Linked DNA regions of Homo sapiens: all the other regions are linked to region 1. Evidence: promoter capture Hi-C in 16 types of primary human blood cells and fetal thymus (Javierre and others, 2016). All regions are on one chromosome and are shown on one strand. The core of a region is centred on a gene start or on the middle of the fragment in contact, and the rest is flanking DNA. Distances in the headings are between cores, read along the strand shown.

The links. Contacts are between HindIII fragments. The CHiCAGO score rates a contact against its expected background, and 5 or more counts as called.
Region 2: a contact is called between a fragment that was not itself captured here and the fragment with the promoter of PRSS8 in region 1, in 13 of 17 cell types (monocytes, total CD8 T cells, naive CD8 T cells and 10 more). The highest score is 13.5, in monocytes.
Region 3: a fragment that was not itself captured here is called in contact with the fragment with the promoter of PRSS8 in region 1 in 13 of 17 cell types (M0 macrophages, M1 macrophages, M2 macrophages and 10 more); the score reaches 13.0 in M0 macrophages.
Region 4: a contact is called between a fragment that was not itself captured here and the fragment with the promoter of PRSS8 in region 1, in 16 of 17 cell types (M0 macrophages, neutrophils, M1 macrophages and 13 more). The highest score is 12.7, in M0 macrophages.
Region 5: a contact is called between a fragment that was not itself captured here and the fragment with the promoter of PRSS8 in region 1, in 3 of 17 cell types (monocytes, neutrophils and total B cells). The highest score is 8.0, in monocytes.
Region 6: a fragment that was not itself captured here is called in contact with the fragment with the promoter of PRSS8 in region 1 in 2 of 17 cell types (neutrophils and monocytes); the score reaches 5.7 in neutrophils.

The regions. Positions count from the first base shown.
Region 1 is chr16:31,133,985-31,137,165 of GRCh38, forward strand. PRSS8 (serine protease 8) reads right to left here and starts at 1,743. Exons shown (of 6, transcript NM_002773.5): 1 at 1,430-1,743; 2 at 1,170-1,187. The coding sequence starts at 1,514. RefSeq lists an enhancer at 1-804. The HindIII fragment of the contact is 17,481 bases long and covers 1-3,181 here.
Region 2 is chr16:31,374,453-31,377,633 of GRCh38, forward strand. It overlaps ITGAX (integrin subunit alpha X), which reads left to right. Exons shown (of 30, transcript NM_000887.5): 21 at 2,347-2,463; 22 at 2,548-2,627; 23 at 2,730-2,813. Among named protein-coding and RNA genes, the nearest start is that of ITGAD, 17 kb to the right of the region's middle. The HindIII fragment of the contact is 1,195 bases long and covers 1,006-2,200 here.
Region 3 is chr16:31,345,498-31,348,678 of GRCh38, forward strand. No RefSeq gene overlaps it. Among named protein-coding and RNA genes, the nearest start is that of ITGAX, 8.1 kb to the right of the region's middle. The HindIII fragment of the contact is 1,480 bases long and covers 895-2,374 here.
Region 4 is chr16:30,964,172-30,967,352 of GRCh38, forward strand. SETD1A (SET domain containing 1A, histone lysine methyltransferase) reads left to right here. Exons shown (of 19, transcript NM_014712.3): 6 at 1-152; 7 at 441-1,290; 8 at 1,430-2,215; 9 at 2,713-2,889. Among named protein-coding and RNA genes, the nearest start is that of SETD1A, 8.0 kb to the left of the region's middle. The HindIII fragment of the contact is 2,452 bases long and covers 25-2,476 here.
Region 5 is chr16:31,296,644-31,299,824 of GRCh38, forward strand. It overlaps ITGAM (integrin subunit alpha M), which reads left to right. Exons shown (of 30, transcript NM_000632.4): 13 at 871-1,011; 14 at 1,102-1,311. Among named protein-coding and RNA genes, the nearest start is that of ITGAM, 38 kb to the left of the region's middle. The HindIII fragment of the contact is 4,791 bases long and covers 1-3,181 here.
Region 6 is chr16:31,268,503-31,271,683 of GRCh38, forward strand. ITGAM (integrin subunit alpha M) reads left to right here. Exons shown (of 30, transcript NM_000632.4): 6 at 2,452-2,582. Among named protein-coding and RNA genes, the nearest start is that of ITGAM, 10 kb to the left of the region's middle. RefSeq lists an enhancer at 2,780-3,181. The HindIII fragment of the contact is 3,863 bases long and covers 1-3,181 here.

The DNA of each region.
Region 1 (3,181 bases), core at 493-2,992:
CCAGTCTCACAATTGTTCCGGAGTCCACAACTGTGTCTGTTTCCACCACACCAATCTGGGCATTCCCTAGGGGCAGATTCTCATGTCTGCAGTGCCTGTGGCGTCGTGGACATATATTCAACAAACCAACAGCAGAACTGGGCTCCTGTGATGTGAATGTCTAGTTTCCAGGACAGCCCCAGCCCCACCCCCATTGAGGCCACTTTGGAGTGGAGCCCAACTGCTCTTCACAAAGTCATCTAGGAGCAGAGAAAATTGCAGACCAGATCTTTCTCTCCCTTATCATCATGACAATAGCCACTATTTAGAGAGCCTAGCGGCTGTGCCAGGCCCTGGAGGGGCTTTCGCTTCCTCATCTCCCTGCATCCTCTCCACAGCCCCAGGAGACGGACATGACCAGCTTCATTTTAGAGGTGAGGAGTCTAAGGCTTAGAGAAGTGGGGGGACTTGGCCAATGACACACAGCCAGTGCATGGGGAAGCCAGGATTGAAAGCCGGTCTGACTCAGAGCTGGGTTGGGTGCCTTCCAAGAAAGGAGACCCTTGGTTTGGTTCCCTCAAAACCACCTCCAGGATGGGAACGGTGGCTCACACCTGTAATCCCAGCACTTTGAGAGGCCAAGGCAGGAGGATCGCTTGAGCCCAGGAGTTCAAGACCTGCCCGGCCAACATAGTGAGACCCACATCTCTACCAAACAAAAACAAAAACAAAAACAAAACACAACTAGCTGGGTGTGATGGCATGCACCTGTAGTCCCAGCCACTAGGGAGGCTGAGGTGGGGAGGTGGGAGGATCACGTGAGCCCGGGAGGCTGGATCACTGAGACTGCAGTGAGCTGCGATCGGGCCACTGCACTCCAGCCTGGGTGACGACAGACCCAGACCCTGTTTCAAAAGACAAAAACCAAACCAAAAAAACCACCTCGATTGCCCCACTTTGGGAGTCAGACGTGGATCTGAATCCCAGCTGCACCTTCACTGGCAGTGTGCCCTGGGCAAGTCCCTGCTTCTCTGCCCATAAGGTGAGGGCTAAAACCCCCCACTCTGGGAGCCCTAAGAGAATCTAGTTGGAAGGCAGCCCAGCTGAAGGCCAGGCACTGGTTAAACCCCAGGGGAATCCGATCCAAGTCACCTCCCCCTCCCCTCCTCCCTCTCCGAGGAAAGTCTCACCTTCTGCCCCTTCCGCTCCTAGAAAGAAAGAGAAAGAGGAGGGGTGAGTAGGGAAGACTCGGGTTCCCTGACCCCTTAGTACCCACCACTGCTCCAGAGGGCTGGCCCCTTCCCTGACAGAGCCAAGGTGGGAAAGAGAGGCCAAGAGCTAGGGAGGCCGGGGGTTTTCTTGGGCCCCAGACAAGGGCACACCCCAGAAAATGATCACGCCGGCTCCCTCCAGTGCATTGTCCCCACCCTGCCCCCACGTCCTCACTTACCTGTCCCCGACCGGAGTAATCCAAGATAGAGCAGAATGGCCACAGCCCCCAGCTGCCCAGGCCCCAGGACCCCCTTCTGGGCCATGGCCCAGGACAAGGGCCCCTGGGGCAGACTCCAGGCACGCAAGGTAGGAAGCCTTGGGGTGGTGTCGAAGGCAGGACCCAGATGTTGGCTCAGAGGGAAGGATCCCAGAATCCGGGCTGGAAAGGGGCAGCAAGTGTCCAAGGCTGGCCTCTAAGGCAGGGAGCGGCCGCAACGGGAGACGCCTGGAGTATCCGAAGCGAGCAGTGTGGACGAGTCACCAGCACCGTCTGGCCACGCAGGGTCCTCCCAGGAGTGGCTGCACCTACCTGCCCGCCCCTCCCCTGGCCCCGCCCACTGGCTGGGCTCCGCCAGCTCCTCTTGCCACCAAAGTCATGAGTCCTTTCAGAGCTGCAGGCCCGTGTGTGTGCATGTATGTGTCCGTGTGTATGTGTGTGCACATGCATAGGCCTTTTGTGTGTGTGTCCCGGTGTGTAGTGTGTATGTGGTGTGTGTGTATGCCTGTGTAGGCTGTGTGTGTCCTCTTATGTGGTGTGGTATGTGTGTGTGTGTGCATGTACAGGCTGTATGTGCACATGTGTAGGCTGTGTGTGTCCCTGTGTGTGTAGTGTGTGTGTCTGAGTGTGCGTGCATGCACGTGCATGTGGTTTGTGTGTGTGTGCAGTCTCCCTGGAATGTGACGACTCTCCTCCGCCTCAGGTCTTTCAGGTTATCTCAGGCCAGTTATGCCCCCCAGGGCCTGGCCCCAGCTTTTATTATCTGGAGCCACAGCCACTCCTCCCTTCTTCCCTCCCTCCTTAGGCTGGTTATGGGAGCTTAAGACACTATGGTCTGTCCCCTGCCAGGCCCTTTCTGCGATGCCTGCACCTCATGGGTGGTGGCGAGCTTGTGGAGCAGCACCAATCATCCCACAGACATTTCCTAAGTGCCTATGATGTTCCCAGGTGTCCAGGACAAAACAGGCACCAGCCCCGTCCCCCTTGAGCCCTGAGCTCATGGTGAAGTAGGGGTGACACACTTCAATCAAATAATCACAAACAGGCTGGCAAGGTGGCTAGTCGGCTTTGGGAGGCTGAGGCTGGAGCATCACTTGAAGCCAGGAGTTCCAGACCAGCCTGGGGAATATAGCGAGGCCTCATCTCTACAAAGAAATATAAAAATTAGGCAGGCATTGTGGCGCATGCCTATGGTTCCAGCTATTTGGGAGGCTGAGGCAGGAGGATTGCTTGAGCCCAGGAGTTCAACGAAGCATTGAGCTATGATCACGCCACTGCACTCCAGCCTGGGCAACAGAGGGAGACCCTGTCTTAAAAAAAAAAATTGCAATTACACAATAATTTCAAGCTAGGAATAGTGATGAAAAAGAATGGCGTGAGCACACCACAGCCTGGCAAAGGCTGGCATTGTGAAAGGGTCCTCGAGGAATTGCCTTGGAAACTGAGACCGAAAGGGATTATAAAAGGTGGTAAGGCGAAGATGGGGGGATGGGGTGCAGAGGGCAGAGGCTCAGGGAAAGAAGGCTTGCCGTGTGGCTGCGGTGGGAGTGAGGCATGTATCCTCCTTGAGGGCCACTCTGGCCGTTCAAAACACCTGTTGAGGCTGGGTGTGGTGGCTCACGCCTCTAATCTCGGCACTTTGGGAGGCCAAGGCACACGAATCACGAGGTCAGGAGTTTGAGACCATCCTGAACAACATGGTGAAACCCCATT
Region 2 (3,181 bases), core at 353-2,852, 240 kb after region 1:
TTTTTGAGACAGGGTTTTGCTCTGTCACACAGGCTGGAGTGCAGTGGCACAATTTCAGCTTACTGTAGCCTTGACCTCCTGGGCTCAAGCGATCCTCCCATCTCAGCCTCCTGAGTAGCTAGAACCACATGCACACACCACCACACCTGGCTAATTTTTTAATTTTTTTTGTAGAGTTGGGGTCTTACCATGCTGCCCAAACTGGTCTCTAACCCCTGGGTTCAAGCAGTCCTCCTATCTTAGCTTCCCAAAGTGTTGGAGTTACAGACATGAGCCACTGTGCCTGACCTGCTAAAGTATTTTAAAACAAATCTCAGACATGGGGGTCATTGTACTCCTCCTTATTCACTCTGCTATGGTTTGAATGCATCACCCAATGTTCGTGTGTTGGACACTTAATCCCCAATGCAACAGTGTTGAAAGGTGAAACCTTTTAAAGGTGATTAGGTTATGAGGGCTTTGCCCTCATGAATGGATGAATACTATTATCTCAAGAGTAGATTAGTTATTTCAGGAGTGGGTTTCCTTCCTTCCTTTCTTCTTTCTTTTTCTTTCTTTCTTTTCCTTCTTTCTTTCTTTCCTTGAGAGGGTCTTGCTCTGTTGCCCAGGCTAGGGTGCAGTGGCACGATCTTGGCTCACTGCAGCCTCTGCCTCCCGAATTCAAGCAATTCTTGTGCCTCAGCCTCCTGAGTAGCTGGGATTACAGGTGCCCACTGCCACGCCCAGCTAAGTTTTGCATTTTTAGTAGAGATGGGGTTTCACCATGTTGGGCAGTCTGGTCTTGAACTCCTGACCTCAAATGATCCACCCGATTCGGCCTCCCAAAGTACTAGGATTACAGGCGTAAGCCACGGAGCCTAGCCCAGGAGTGGGTTTCTAATTAAAGGATGAGTTTGGCCCCCTTTCCCTCTCACTCTCACATGCACTGCCTTGCACATGCAGCACAAAGGCCCTCACCAGATGCTGGTGCCATGTTCTTGGACTTCCCAGCCTCCAGAACCACAAAGCTTCTATTGATACATTACCTAGTTTGCGGTAATCTGTTATAGCAGCAGGGAACAGACAAAGACACACTCTATAGTTCTGAACAATGAGGACCTCTTATATGACCTCAACACCATTATCACACCCAATGAAATAAGTGATTCCTTGGTATTAAGATCATAGTCAAAATTGTGTAACTGTCTCAAAAATATCTTTTTACTTCTGGTCTATTTGAACGAAAATTCGAACTAGGTCCATACATGATGGTTGGTTGTTATTTCTGCTGTCTCTCTTAGTCTAATATTCCCAGCGGAAGCGCATTTTGATTAACGTATAAAAGAACACAGCAGGAAAGGCCATCTCTTGCATGTGAGGGGTGATCACTGTCAATGAAAGTGCTCCTAGACATATCAACCAAATGTAATGGGTGGACCTTTGCTGAATATTGATTTTAACAAATGAGCTGTAAAATAACATTTTTGGAGACAATCTAAGAAAATAGAACATGACCAGTATATTGGTATATTAAGGAGTAATTGTTAATTTTGTTGGCTGTGATTTGTTGGTTCTTGTGGTTACATTTAAAATACCCTTATCTATTGGTGGTATACACTGAAGTATTTCTAGATGAAACAATATGGTGTTTGGAATGTGCTTTAAAGTGTTCAGAAAGAGAACATAGCAGAAACAAGAGTAGAAAAATGTTGGTTACTTAAAATGAGTGATGGTTATATGGGGTTGATTTTCCAGTCTCTCTATTTTTTAATGTGTTTTAAATTTTCCATTATAAGAGGCCTTTAAAATAACAATAAAAAGGTGAACATTTTAATACATTTGAGATTTCTACTTTGGAAGAAAGTTTGACCAGATAGCTATGGGGGAGCTTTTAAAAACGTAACCTTGGCTGGACATGGTGGCTCATACCTGTAATCCTAGTGTTTTGGGGGGACAAGATGGGAGGATTGCTTGAGGCCAGGAGTTCAAGACCAGCCTGGGCAATATAGCGAGGTCCCATTTATAAAAAAATTTTTTTAAAATTAGCCAGGCATGGTGGTGGTGTGTGCCTGTAGTCCTAGCTACTCAGGAGGCTGAGGCAAGAGGATGGCTTGAGGCCAGAGTTTGAGGCTGCAGTGAGCTGTGATTGCATCACTGCTTTCTAGCCTGGGTGACAGAGTGAGACCTGGTCTCAAAAAACAAACAAACAAACAAAAACATAAGCTTAAGGTGGGCTCCAGGAAGCTTTATCACTACTTCGTGGCGTGTCTTTGGAATGCTGTTATATTAGGTTGGTGCAAAAGTAATTGGGTTTTTGCCATTGCTTTCAATTTCAACTAATACTCCTCTACTTTTTCTCATGCCTAGAAACAAGGGCAGCTGCGTTCCCTGCACCTGACATGTGACAGCGCCCCAGTTGGGAGCCAGGGCACCTGGAGCACCAGCTGCAGAATCAACCACCTCATCTTCCGTGGCGGCGCCCAGGTCAGCCTGGCTTCTGTCCCCTCACTGCTCCCCTGCCCCACCCTGTCTTTACTGCTCTGTGACCTCTCAGTTCCTTTTCCTCAGATCACCTTCTTGGCTACCTTTGACGTCTCCCCCAAGGCTGTCCTGGGAGACCGGCTGCTTCTGACAGCCAATGTGAGCAGGTGAGCCGGGCCAGGCCAGGGGCAGTGCCCCTCATCTCCAGCCTCACACCCCATTCTCCTCCTCTGGGGCCTCTGGCAACTGAGTCTCTCCTCTTTCTCCAGTGAGAACAACACTCCCAGGACCAGCAAGACCACCTTCCAGCTGGAGCTCCCGGTGAAGTATGCTGTCTACACTGTGGTTAGCAGGTCAGCAGGTACCCCACTGCAGGAAAAAGGGTTCTTCTCTCTGACCTCAAAAAGAAAAAAAAAAAAAGGCCTTGAAACGCTGCCACAGAGGGTGAGATAAGGTGTTTGAAACTAAAAGGTCAGGTGTTTCAGCAGACACCTTCCTTCAGCCAATGCCTTCCTCGAATTTGCTGTGTGCCAGGCAGGGTGCTGTGGTTATTTTCCATACATTCATTTGACATTCATTGAAGATTTACTGAGCCCCCATTATGTGTGATCAAAACCAGACATGAACCCTCGCCCTTGTGGGGTGTGCCTTGCTGGATGTTCTCCTGTGCCTGGTGTTTCCCACTCTCACCTGCACCTGCATGCGTGGAGGCTCCCAGCCA
Region 3 (3,181 bases), core at 385-2,884, 210 kb after region 1:
GAGTGCAGTGGTGCGATCATAGCTCACTGCATACTTGATCTCCCAGGCTCAAGGGATCCTCCTGCTTCAGCCTCCTGAGTGGTTGGGACTACAGGCCCACATTACTGTGCTAGCCTAATTATTTATTTATTTTTTTGAGACGGAGTCTTGCTCTGTCATCCAGGCTGGAGTGCAATGGCACGATCTCAGCTCACTGCAACCTCCGCCTCCTGGGTTCAAGCAATTCTCCTTCCTCAGCTTCCTGAGTAGCTGGGATTATAGGCACCCGCTACCACGCCTGGCTAATTTTTGTATTTTTAGTAGAGACGGGGTTTCACCATGTTGGTCAGGCTGGTCTTGAACTCCTGACCTCGTGATTTGCCCACCTCAGCCTCCCAAAGTGCTGGCATTGCAGGTGTGAGCCACCGTGCCCAGCCAGTACTAGCCTAATTTTTAAATTTTTGTAAAGTCAGGGTCTTGCTGTGTTGCCCAGGCTGGTCTTGAGCTCCTGAGCTCAAGTGATCCTCCTGCTTCTGCCTCCCAAAGTGCTGGGATTACAGGCATGAGCCACCGCACCTGGCATACTTCACATTTTCTAGAGTCCAAGAGACTGAATATACAAAGGGATAGTGGTCAGACTAGACATAAAAATAGACATCTGCCCCCCAGCCTGCAGCAACCAGCCCAGGAAGCCTATCAATAACTAACAATCAGCCCCATGTCCAGGACTTAATCAATAACTGATGGCTTCCCTAATTTTTGTCCCTACTTCCAACTTAGGACCAACCAGACAAAGCCAAATATGTCCCCTAGTCAATTGCACAGGATGCCCGCTTCCAGTGAGCCACATACAGCTTCCCAGGCCAGCAGCTTCTACTTGGGGCATCCCTGAAGACTTCCCAGTTTCCACTACAAAGCTTTCCTACTGTACTGCCCATTTTTGAGTCTCTGCCAAAACACCAGTGATGGCCACTGACTCCCTTGCTAGAGCCAGCTTTGAATAAATAGACTTCGCCTGTTCTCATTTGGTTGGTCTTTGTGTCTTTCCGCAATCCTCTGGTCCAGCTACTGTGATAAATAGATCAATAGAGCAATTTCCTTTCTGCTTCCTCTGTGGGCATTCCCATCTTGGCGCAGACTTGAACAATTGCTAAAATCCTTCCCCTTATCTGCCCCCTATGCCCCACTGCCATTAAAGGATAAGATCCCTCTGCAGGCTGGGCTGAGTGAATGTGAACGGAATGCATTGGTTGCCAAGTTCTGCCATATACGCATTTGCCTGTTGAGACCAATCCTGCTACCATGCCAGGGCCAGGAGAGAGAAGCTGAGTGGGATGACCCTGCCTTACTCCTCCTCTTTGGAATTCTCCCTCTCTTAATTCACACAGGCATCTCCAGCCCAGCCCCTCCCAGGCACGGCCCCACTGGTTCAAGTTCTCACAGAGACCCTGGATTTCTGCCCTGTTCTGTTCTCTCACCCCACCTTCCTAGGGATTCTCTCACTCCCTCCTTTTACCCTAAAAAGGGATTAAGATGAAATCATTCTGTGGTCACTAGATGTTGTCTGTGCCTGAGACTGAGCGTGGATCCGTTTCAGAGGCCTGCTGGGTTCCCCTACACATGGAAATAAAGAAAAATCTTGAGTTTCTTCAAGGAGAATTCCAGGCACCTTGCTAATCTGGAGAAGTATATGAGCAGCCCGGTAAGCAAGAAGATAACAGTCACTTCAAACAATAGCCAAGGAAGTGAGAGCCACAAGATGTGTGGTTCCCCAGAAAACCAAGGGTTTTAACGTACATCCCTGAGTTGTTTTTCAGAAACCTGGACCCCCACTGTATTAGTCCGTTCTTGCATTGCTACAAAGAACTTCCTGAGACCGGGTAATTTATAAAGAAAGGAGATTTAATTGGCTAATGGTTCCTCAGGCATTATAAGAAGCATGGATGGGGAGGCCTCAGGAAACTTACAGTCATGGTGGAAGGCGAAGAGGAAGGAGTCATGTCTTACACGGCTGGAGAAGGAAAGAAGACAGACCAGGGCGAGGTGCTACACACTTTTAAACAACCAGATCTTGTGATGACTCACTCACTATCACGAGAACAGCAAGGGAGAAATCCGCACCCATGGTCCAATCACCTCCCACCAGGCCCCTCCTCCAACACTGCAGATTATAATCCAACATGAGATTTGAGTGGGGACACAAATCCAAACCATATCACCCCCAGATGGAAAATGCCATCTGCTGGTATGTAGGCCACTGATAAGGAGGAAGTGAAGACTGAACTCTGATCACTATTCTTTGCTCTAAATTTCTTCCTGAGGGCCCTGGAGAGACAGTCACTCCCATAGGCCAGACCTTAATATTCCTTCCTGCTGACCCCAAGTTTTTAGATGAAGCTTTCCTTCCTTAACCAATTGCAAATCAAAGAATCTTTGAACCCATGTATGACTTGTAAGCCTTGCTTCAAGATATCCTGGCTTTTTAGGCCAAACTAATGTATAACCTCCAGGTATTGGTTTATGATTTTGCCTGTAACTTCTGCTTTCCTGAAATGTACCTCGCCCTTAAAAACTCTTGCTTGGAGGGTTAACATTGGGTTAACACCAATTTCTCAGTTGCTGTGTTGATGCTCAAGGCTCACAAGTGCCCCCAATCTCTGGGGAATGGTCTTGCCTGCAGGGGAGTAGCCCCTTCTTCTGTGTGGCAGTGGGATAAGCTAGAGGAAGTGGGGAAGAATGGCTGGTGGTCAATGACTGACCCACCCGGGGAGAACCAAGGGCCACACTTCAGCCTCAAGGAAGGACCCATTCATGCTCACAGCTTCCGGGGACCAGGCTGGAGTCAGGGTCAGGGGAGAGCTCCTTGTCACTTAGCCTCTTTCCCCACTCTATCCTGCTTTCTTCTCCTTGTCTCTCCAATGATGGGCATTGGACACTGAGCAGATACAACCAGGGGTCAGTTCCTGTCTGTGGGTGTAGGACGGATGGGTGATGGGAGGGTGGATGGGTTTGTGTGTGGACAAGTGGACGGATGGAAGGATGGGGTGGAGGGTGGATGGGCAGATGGGTGGGTGGATGGGTGAACAGGTGGATGGGTGGGTGGAGGGAAGCCTCCACCTTCAAATGGAAGCCTTCAAATGGAAGGTGTGGGTGTTGTCACCAACACTGCAAACCCAAGCCCCCTTCTGTGACCACCTCTTTT
Region 4 (3,181 bases), core at 1-2,500, 170 kb before region 1:
GGCACCCCCTGCTCCCAGGACACAAGCTTCTCCAGCAGCCGACAAGATACCCCATCTTCCTTTGGCCAGTTCACACCTCAGTCCTCCCAAGGAACCCCCTACACGTCTCGGGGCAGCACCCCCTACTCTCAGGACTCTGCCTACTCCAGCAGGTACAGAGCAGACCCCGCCTGGGGCCCCGCCCGCAAAGTCTGGGAGCTGCCACTGGGAAGAAGATGCCCAGAGTCTGTCTCCAAGAGGGAGTTGGAAATAATTTGTCCTAGTTTCTCTGTGGATTCAGTCAACAAATTGCTGTCCTCGGGGAACACACTAGCTAGGAACCCAACATATAGCTCTTCTTTTGGAGGGCAGCATAGAGGGGCTTTGGGCCCTGGGACCCAGTACGCTGTGGTTTGGTCATAGAGAGCTGAGTCCAGCTAACTCCCCTGCTTCTTCTCCAGCACCACTTCAACCTCCTTCAAGCCCCGGCGGTCAGAGAACAGCTACCAAGATGCCTTTTCCCGCCGCCACTTCTCTGCATCTTCAGCCTCCACAACCGCCTCCACGGCCATCGCCGCCACCACTGCAGCCACTGCCTCATCCTCCGCCTCTTCCTCCTCATTGTCCTCGTCCTCCTCGTCATCCTCTTCCTCCTCGTCCTCTCAGTTTCGTAGTTCTGATGCAAACTACCCAGCGTATTATGAAAGCTGGAATCGCTACCAGCGCCATACTTCCTACCCACCACGCCGGGCCACACGGGAGGAACCCCCTGGAGCCCCTTTTGCTGAAAATACAGCTGAGCGCTTCCCACCTTCTTACACCTCCTACCTGCCCCCCGAGCCCAGCCGGCCCACCGACCAGGACTACCGGCCTCCTGCCTCAGAGGCTCCACCCCCGGAGCCTCCAGAACCTGGTGGAGGCGGGGGTGGAGGAGGGCCCAGCCCTGAGAGAGAAGAAGTTCGGACTTCCCCCCGCCCAGCCTCCCCTGCCCGCTCTGGCTCCCCAGCCCCGGAGACCACCAATGAGAGTGTGCCCTTCGCCCAGCACAGCAGCCTGGATTCCCGCATCGAGATGCTGCTGAAGGAGCAGCGCTCCAAGTTTTCCTTCTTGGCCTCTGACACAGAGGAGGAGGAAGAGAACAGCAGCATGGTCCTTGGGGCCAGAGATACAGGGAGTGAGGTGCCTTCTGGGTCAGGGCATGGGCCCTGCACACCCCCTCCGGCCCCAGCTAATTTTGAGGATGTGGCACCTACAGGGAGCGGGGAGCCAGGGGCTACCCGGGAGTCTCCCAAGGCAAATGGACAGAACCAGGTGAGGTTGGGGTCAGCCAGAGGAGGCACCTGGGCTCTGGGAGTCAGGGTTGGGCCTAGGGGAGAGGGAAGGGAACCAGATGAGAAAGTAGGGCTTGGGTCAGGCAGAAGCCTTCTGTGACCCTCTTCTGCCCCCGCAGGCTTCTCCATGCTCTTCTGGAGACGACATGGAGATCTCCGACGACGACCGGGGTGGCTCACCCCCTCCGGCCCCGACGCCCCCTCAGCAGCCTCCGCCACCTCCCCCTCCCCCGCCGCCTCCTCCTCCCTACCTGGCGTCCCTTCCTCTTGGTTATCCTCCCCACCAACCTGCCTACCTCCTCCCACCCAGACCTGATGGGCCGCCGCCCCCTGAGTACCCCCCACCTCCTCCACCACCCCCGCACATCTATGACTTTGTGAACTCCTTGGAGCTCATGGACCGACTTGGGGCTCAGTGGGGAGGGATGCCCATGTCCTTCCAGATGCAGACCCAGATGTTAACTCGGCTCCATCAGCTGCGGCAGGGCAAGGGATTGATTGCCGCCTCAGCTGGCCCCCCCGGTGGGGCCTTTGGGGAGGCCTTCCTCCCGTTTCCACCCCCGCAGGAGGCAGCCTACGGCTTGCCGTATGCTCTATATGCACAGGGGCAGGAGGGCAGAGGGGCATACTCACGGGAGGCCTACCACCTGCCCATGCCAATGGCAGCCGAGCCCCTGCCCTCCTCCTCAGTCTCGGGAGAGGAGGCCCGGCTGCCACCCAGGGAAGAAGCAGAGCTGGCAGAGGGCAAGACCCTCCCGACAGCAGGCACCGTGGGCCGTGTGCTCGCCATGCTGGTCCAGGAGATGAAGAGCATCATGCAGCGAGACCTCAACCGCAAGATGGTGGAGAACGTGGCCTTCGGAGCCTTTGACCAGTGGTGGGAGAGCAAGGAGGAGAAGGCCAAGGTGAGGCCAGCGCCTGGGACCGGGGAGCCCTGGGCTTTGCAGGAGGAAATGGGCCTCTGGCTCCTCCAGGCTGCACAGCTCAGAGGAGACAGGTGATGGAGGCGAGTGGAGAGAGGCCGCAGGCCCTGCAGGCCACCCTGGGTGGGCAGGGGAGTTGAGGGGACAGAGAAGCAGGCACAGATGGGCCTGGGAGGCAGCAGAGCTTTGTCCTGGCTCCATTCCTTGCTGGCTTGCAGTGGACAAGGCCCTTAGCTCTCTTCAAGCTTTGGTCTTCCATTTTGCCACTTGTGAAGTGGGAATGGTGGCTATTTCTTAAGACTGGTGGGCGAAATGACAGACTTTTGAGAAAATGCCGTGCGGGGGCTGGGACAGGTGTGACCAAGATATGGAGCAGCAAGTAGATGCGTTCTGTATTCCTGGGGTCCGGGAGTAGGTCTCAGGCAGGAGGGAATGCCTGGGTTCTGGGCGCTGGGGCTCAGCCCCACTGCTGCCTGCAGCCATTCCAGAACGCGGCCAAGCAGCAAGCCAAGGAGGAGGATAAAGAGAAGACGAAGCTGAAGGAGCCTGGCCTGCTGTCCCTCGTGGACTGGGCCAAGAGCGGGGGCACTACGGGCATCGAGGCTTTCGCCTTTGGGTCAGGGCTGAGAGGGGCCCTGCGGCTGCCTTCATTCAAGGTACTCAGAACTGTCGTTTTGTGGGGTAGGGTGGGGAGAGGGAGAGGGGGCCCCCTTCCTTGGGGTAGGGGTGGTCAGGAACCATGAGTGTTTGAGTTTTTTCTTTTTTTTGAGATGGAGTCTTACTCTGTTGCCCAGGCTGGAGTGCAGTGGCCTGATCTCAGCTCACTGCAACCTCCGCCTCCCGGGTTCAAGCGATTCTCCTGCCTCAGCCTCCCGAGTAGCTGGGGTTACAGGCACCCGCCACCACGCCTGGCTAATTTTTGTATTTTTAGTAGAGCTGGGGTTTCAC
Region 5 (3,181 bases), core at 314-2,813, 160 kb after region 1:
CTTGTCCCAGTTTGAAATTGCTATACACATCTCCCTGTTAATCCATTGATTACTCTCCTCTCCTCCACCTGGCTGCACTGAGGGCCCTGGAAGGCACTGTATCTCTATTACCCAGCTGTGTGCTTAGCAATAAGAAACACTTGTTTGTTGAATGAATGAATAAATGAATGAATGAATGTATGATTAAATAGGTGAATTTTATGGATGAATTCTACATATTGACCTTGAAGATATTTCTTAATATCACAACAAATATTCAAATAACAAATAGTTATTTTTAATCTAAGCCAGTTATTAGCCTTATTAGTCAGAGTGCCAACTTTGACTTTTTACCTCCCTAAAGATTCCCAATATATTGAAAGGGTGGTATTCTGTCTTCTCTTCTAGAATTTTCTATGTATTTTCCAACCCAAATTCTTCTTTGCTGCCTTAATAATCTCCCAGGAATACCACCTGGAGTAAATCCTCACTCACTGCCCATTGACTCTACTATAGGCTTATTTTTTATCTTTTAAATTATTAAAAAATATATATATACACTTAGAGATTGGGATCTTGCTCTGTTGCCCAAGCTGGAGTGCAGTGGTGACAAAGCTCACTGCAGCCTTAAACTCCTTGGCTCAAGGGATCCTCCCACTTCAGCCCCCCGAGGAGCTGGGATTACAGGCAGAAACCATTCTGCCAGGCTTATTATATAGGTTCCTTTAGCTGGCAGCACATTCAAGTGATAATTTATCATGAACCATATAGAAGATCACATCTGCTCCAGAGGGATTCCCCCAGCAGGCATAACTTTTCTTCAGAGAGAGAAAACCTCCACATCTGCTTTAGGTGGGAAGAGGTGTGTGATTACGGTCCTGTCTCTTTCAGATCGGCGCCTACTTCGGGGCCTCCCTCTGCTCCGTGGACGTGGACAGCAACGGCAGCACCGACCTGGTCCTCATCGGGGCCCCCCATTACTACGAGCAGACCCGAGGGGGCCAGGTGTCCGTGTGCCCCTTGCCCAGGGGGGTGAGTGGCAATGGGACCTGGGCTGGGTGGGGCCCGGTGTGGGTGGAGGGGTCGCCTGGGTTGGGGCCTGATACTGTTTGTGTTTAGCAGAGGGCTCGGTGGCAGTGTGATGCTGTTCTCTACGGGGAGCAGGGCCAACCCTGGGGCCGCTTTGGGGCAGCCCTAACAGTGCTGGGGGACGTAAATGGGGACAAGCTGACGGACGTGGCCATTGGGGCCCCAGGAGAGGAGGACAACCGGGGTGCTGTTTACCTGTTTCACGGAACCTCAGGATCTGGCATCAGCCCCTCCCATAGCCAGGTGAGACCTGGTCACTGTCCTTGTCATGACAGTAGCCTCTTTGTTGATCTTTCTCCTAATTCAGTGTGCCCACAGCTGCCAGATAAGTTCTCACAGTACTCCTTTCAGAACCTTCAAAAATAATAACATGTGGCTGGGCCTGGTGGCTGACGCCTGTAATCCCAGCACTTTGGAAGGCTGAGTTGGGAGGATTGTTTAAGCCCAGGAGCTCAAGACCAGTCAGGGCAACATGGTGAGAACCCATCTCTCCAAAAAAAAAAAAAAAAAAAAAAAATTAGCCAGGTGTGGTGGCATACACCCATGGTCCCAGCTACTCTGGAGGCTGAGGCCGGAGGATTACTTGAGCCTGGGAGGTTGAGGCTGCAGTGAGTCCTGGTCACACCACTGTACTCCAGCAGCCAGAGTGACAGAGTCAGACTTGCACATGCATGCGTGCACGTGCACACACACACACACATTCACAGAAATCTCAAAGACTCTTAGTTCCAGATTGATTATTTCTACAGCAATAGGAGGTGCATGATAGCCTCATCACCCCCACTTTACAGATGAGTAGATCAAGGCCCAGCGATGGCAAATGGCAAGCTAGCAGTATTGGGATGCAGGCATTCCTTTCTTCTGAATCTCGGTCCTGGTAAGGTGACCAAGAGCTCTAGTTTGCTTAACTCTGTCCCAGATTTAGTACTGAAATCCCACATCCTGGGAAACCTATGCGGTTGGCCACCTTACGGGATTGCACACTTCACAGATGTGGAATTGTGCAGTCACACGTGCCCCTCTCTCAGAATCGCCCTGTGCTTGGCTTAATGCTCTGCTATTGCCATCTTCAATTCTTAGTAATTTTTCAACAAGGGGTCCTACGTTTTTTTGCATTGGGTCTTGCAAAGCATGGAGCCCATCCTGATGACTTGTCACCCTATATTCTGGACCTGACAACTGTTTTGCTCTGTAAGTTGGCTTTCTGTCTCCTGCCAGGTGGAGCCCACTGTCTGGAGGGACCCTTACAGTCTGGTTCCATCTTCCCTGTTCATATTCTTTCCCACCATAGCCACCTGAGACCATCTAGTTTTCTGGCCTCTGGTCTCTGGGTTTTTGCTAGCCTTACATTTTTCTTTCTTTATGTTTAAAAATTTTTTTATTGTGGTAAGGGCACTTAACATGAGACCTATCCTCTTAACAGATTTTAAAATGTACAATGTAATACTGTCATCTATTGGTGCAATGTTGTACAGCAGACCTCTTGAACTTCATCTTGCATATTGAAAATGTATACCCATTGATTAGCAACTCCTCATTGTTCTCTAGCCTCTGGCAGCCACCATTATATTCTTTGCTTCAATGAGTTTGGCTGTTTTATTTTTTTTTAGTTTTTGAGACAAAAGTTTCAGTCTGTCGCCCAGGCTGGAGTGCAGTGGCACAATCTCGGCTCACTGCAACCTTACCTCCTGGGTTCAAGCGATTCTCCTCTCTCAGCCTCCTGAGTAGCTGGGATTACAAGCATGCACCACCATGCCTGGCTAATTTTTGTATTTTTTGTAGAGACTGGGTTTTGCCATGTTGTCCAGGCTGGTCTTGAGCTCCCGGACTCAAGTGATCCACCTGCCTTGGCCTCCCAAAGTGCTGGGATTACAGGTGTGAGCCACCGCACCCTGCCAGTTTGGCTATTTTAGATAACTCATATAAGTGAAACCACGCCGTATTCATCCTTTGGTGACTGGCTTATTTCACTTAGAATAACGTCCTCCAGGTTCATCCATGTTGTCACAAATGAAAGAATATCTTTCTTCTTTTTCTTCTCCTCCTCCTCCTCTTCCTCCTCCTCCTCCTCCGCCTCCCCCTCCTCCTCCTCTTCCTCCTCCTCCCCCTCCTC
Region 6 (3,181 bases), core at 312-2,811, 130 kb after region 1:
AATGCAATTAGCCAGGCATGGTGGCGTGTGCCTGTGGTCTTAGCTATTCAGGAGGCCTCCCAAAGTGCTGGGGTTACAGGCATGAGCCACTGTGCCCTGCCAGTCTTTCTAAAATACAAAACAAATCATCTCACTTCCTTTTCTAAGAACCTTCTGTGGCTCCCCATTGCCTACAGATAAAGTCGAGCTCCTTATTGGAGTAGAAAGGCCCTTGCCCGCTGCTCTTTGCTTGATGCCACCGCTGTGTCTCCATCGCCGTCACATACGTTTGTCCCTGTAGTGCTGTTTCCATCAAACGGCATTCCTGGATTCTGCCAGAATCCTTTTGAGGCCCTTGTCCCATATATCAGTAGGAGTCTCAACTGGGACCAAAAGCACATTCCAGTAATGTAACTGCCCAAGGGGTTCACCTTGCTTGCTGCCTAGACAGAGCCGATTCATCAAGACAGCAGAATTGCGATAGAGAAAGAATAATTCACACAGAGCCAGCTATGCAGGGGACCAGAGTTTTATTATCACTCGAATCAGTCTCCTCGAGCATTTGGGGGCAGAGTTTTTGAGGATAACTTGGTAGGTCGCGGGGGAAGCCAGTGAGCTGGGAGTGCTGATTGATCAGGGATGAAATCATCGGGAGTCGGAGCTGTCTTCTTGCGTTCAGTTGGTTCCTGGGTGGGGGCAGCAAGATCGGATGAACCAGTTTATTGATCTGGGCAGTGCCAGCTGATCCATCAAGTGCAAGGTCTGCAAAATATCTCAAGCACTGATTTTAGGAGCAGTTTAGGGAGGGTCAGAATCTTGTAGCCTCCAGCTGCATGACTCCTAAATCATAATTTCTCATCTTGTGGCTAACGTTAGTCCTACAAAGGCAATCTAGTCCCCAGGTAAGAAGGAGGTCTGCTTTGGGAAAGGGCTGTTACGATCTTTGTTTAAACTATAAACTATAAACTATAAACTAAGTGTCTCCCAAAGTTAGCTCAGCCTACACCCAGGAATGAACACGGACAGCTTGGAGGTTAGAAGCAAGATGGAATCAGTTAAGTTAGATCTCTTTCACTGTCTCAGTCATAATTTTGCAAAGGCGGTTTCAGTAAGATTTATTTACAAAGAGGGGGGTTTATTTATAAAGGGAGTAATTATAAAGCTGTGACAGGCCTAAGGGAGCCATCAGGGACTTTCCAAGCCCTGGGCAAGCAGGTCTGTTGCCACCCCTGGGTTTATGGGTTGAGGAGAGGGAGAGCTCACCAGGGTCTGGAGAGAGTCATGTGGAGCTGGCTTCCTTCTGAGGAACAGTTGGTCTTTTGTGAAGGACATAGCTGTCCCCAAACAACCTCAATGGGAGAACACCCGGACCTCACTGCCCTCCTCCCTCTAGTCTTCTGTTGAGCCCCCTCATCTGCCAAATCCAATGGGAATCCAGAGGGCAACAGAGTCCTGGTGATGGGGTCCCTGCAGGTTGACCTCCCAGGCCACAGAGCTGAGCGGCAATGGGTAGAAAGTGGATTTGGGGATGGGGCAGAAGGCAGAGGAGCACATTCCACATCACTTTATATGTGTGTGCCCTTCCCTTTTCTAGAATCTACTCCTTTTGTATATCTGGCAAATCCTTCCTTCCTTCCTTCCTTCCTTCCTCCTTTGCTTTCCTTTCCTTTCCTTTCCTTTCCTTTCCTTTCCTTTCCTTTCCTTTCCTTTTTTTCTTCCTTTCTTCCTTTTCTTCGAAGTCTTGCTCTGTGACCCAGGCTGGAGTGCAGTGGTGCGATCTCAGCTACTTTTTGTATTTTTAATAGAGATAGGGTTTCACCATGTCAGCCAGGCTGGTCTCAAACTCCTGATCTCAAGTGATCCACCTGCCTCAGCCTCCCAAAGTGCTGGGATTACAGGTGTGAGCCACCTCGCCCAGCTGGGCAAATTATTTCCTGTTCTTCAAGATTCAGTCAAACATCACCACATTCCCTGATTCCCTTGGGCAGAATTAACGAAAATTTTCCATACCACTTTGTCCTTGTTTATTTACTTATTTATTTATTTTTAAGAGACAGGGTCTTTCTCTGTGGCCCAGGCTGGAGTGCAATGGCGTGATCATAGCTCACTGAAGCCTCAACCTTTTGGGCTGAAGTGATCCCCCACCCTCAGCCTCCTGAGTAGCTGGGACTACAGGCATGTGCCAACATGCCTGACTAATTTTTAACGTGTGTGTGTGTATATATATATATATATATATATATATATATATATATATATATATGTTTTTAACGTGTGTATACATATATATATATACACACACGTTAAAAATTATATATATATTATACATAATTTATATATATATTTAACATCTATATTTTTTATAGAGACGGGGTCCTATATTCTCATTGTTCAGCAGAGGGCTGACATGCAAAAAAACCCAAAACACCAAGTGTCAAATTACTTGATTCATACTCTTTTCCCCTTCCCCAGGGTGTCCTCAAGAGGATAGTGACATTGCCTTCTTGATTGATGGCTCTGGTAGCATCATCCCACATGACTTTCGGCGGATGAAGGAGTTTGTCTCAACTGTGATGGAGCAATTAAAAAAGTCCAAAACCTTGGTGAGGGCCCAGGGGTAGGTTAGGGAAGAGCCCACACGGGGCTGGAAGATACATGGCAACCGGGCCACCATGTTCTCCTCCCAGTTCAACTGCAGACATTGCCAAATTGACGATCGATTATGGTTTGCCTTCCTGAGTCTCTTTTCTGCTCTGTTGGATGCAGCCTCAGCATTCTTTCAGCCTTTTATAAAGCGGGCAGCTCTAATTGTTAAGGTTGGCATGGGAGATGAAGCCCACGTGTCATTGCTGGCTGAGTTCTATTTTCATTTTTATTTCTTATTTTTTTGAGACAGAATCTCACTCTTTCTCTCAGGCTGGAGTGCAGTGGTGTGATCTTGGCTCACTGCAACCTCCGCCTCCCGGGTTCAAGCAATTCTCTTGCCTCAGCCTCCCGAGTAGCGGGGATTACAGGCGCATGCCACCATGCCTGGCTAGTTTTTGTATTTTTAGTAGAGACGGGGTTTCACCATTTTGGCCAGGCTGGTCTCAAACTCCTGACCTCAGGTGATCCACCCGCCTCGGCTTCCCAAAGTGCTGGGATTACAGGTGTGAGCCACTGCTCCCGGCCGCTGGCCGTGTTCTAGTATTGAGGAGAGATG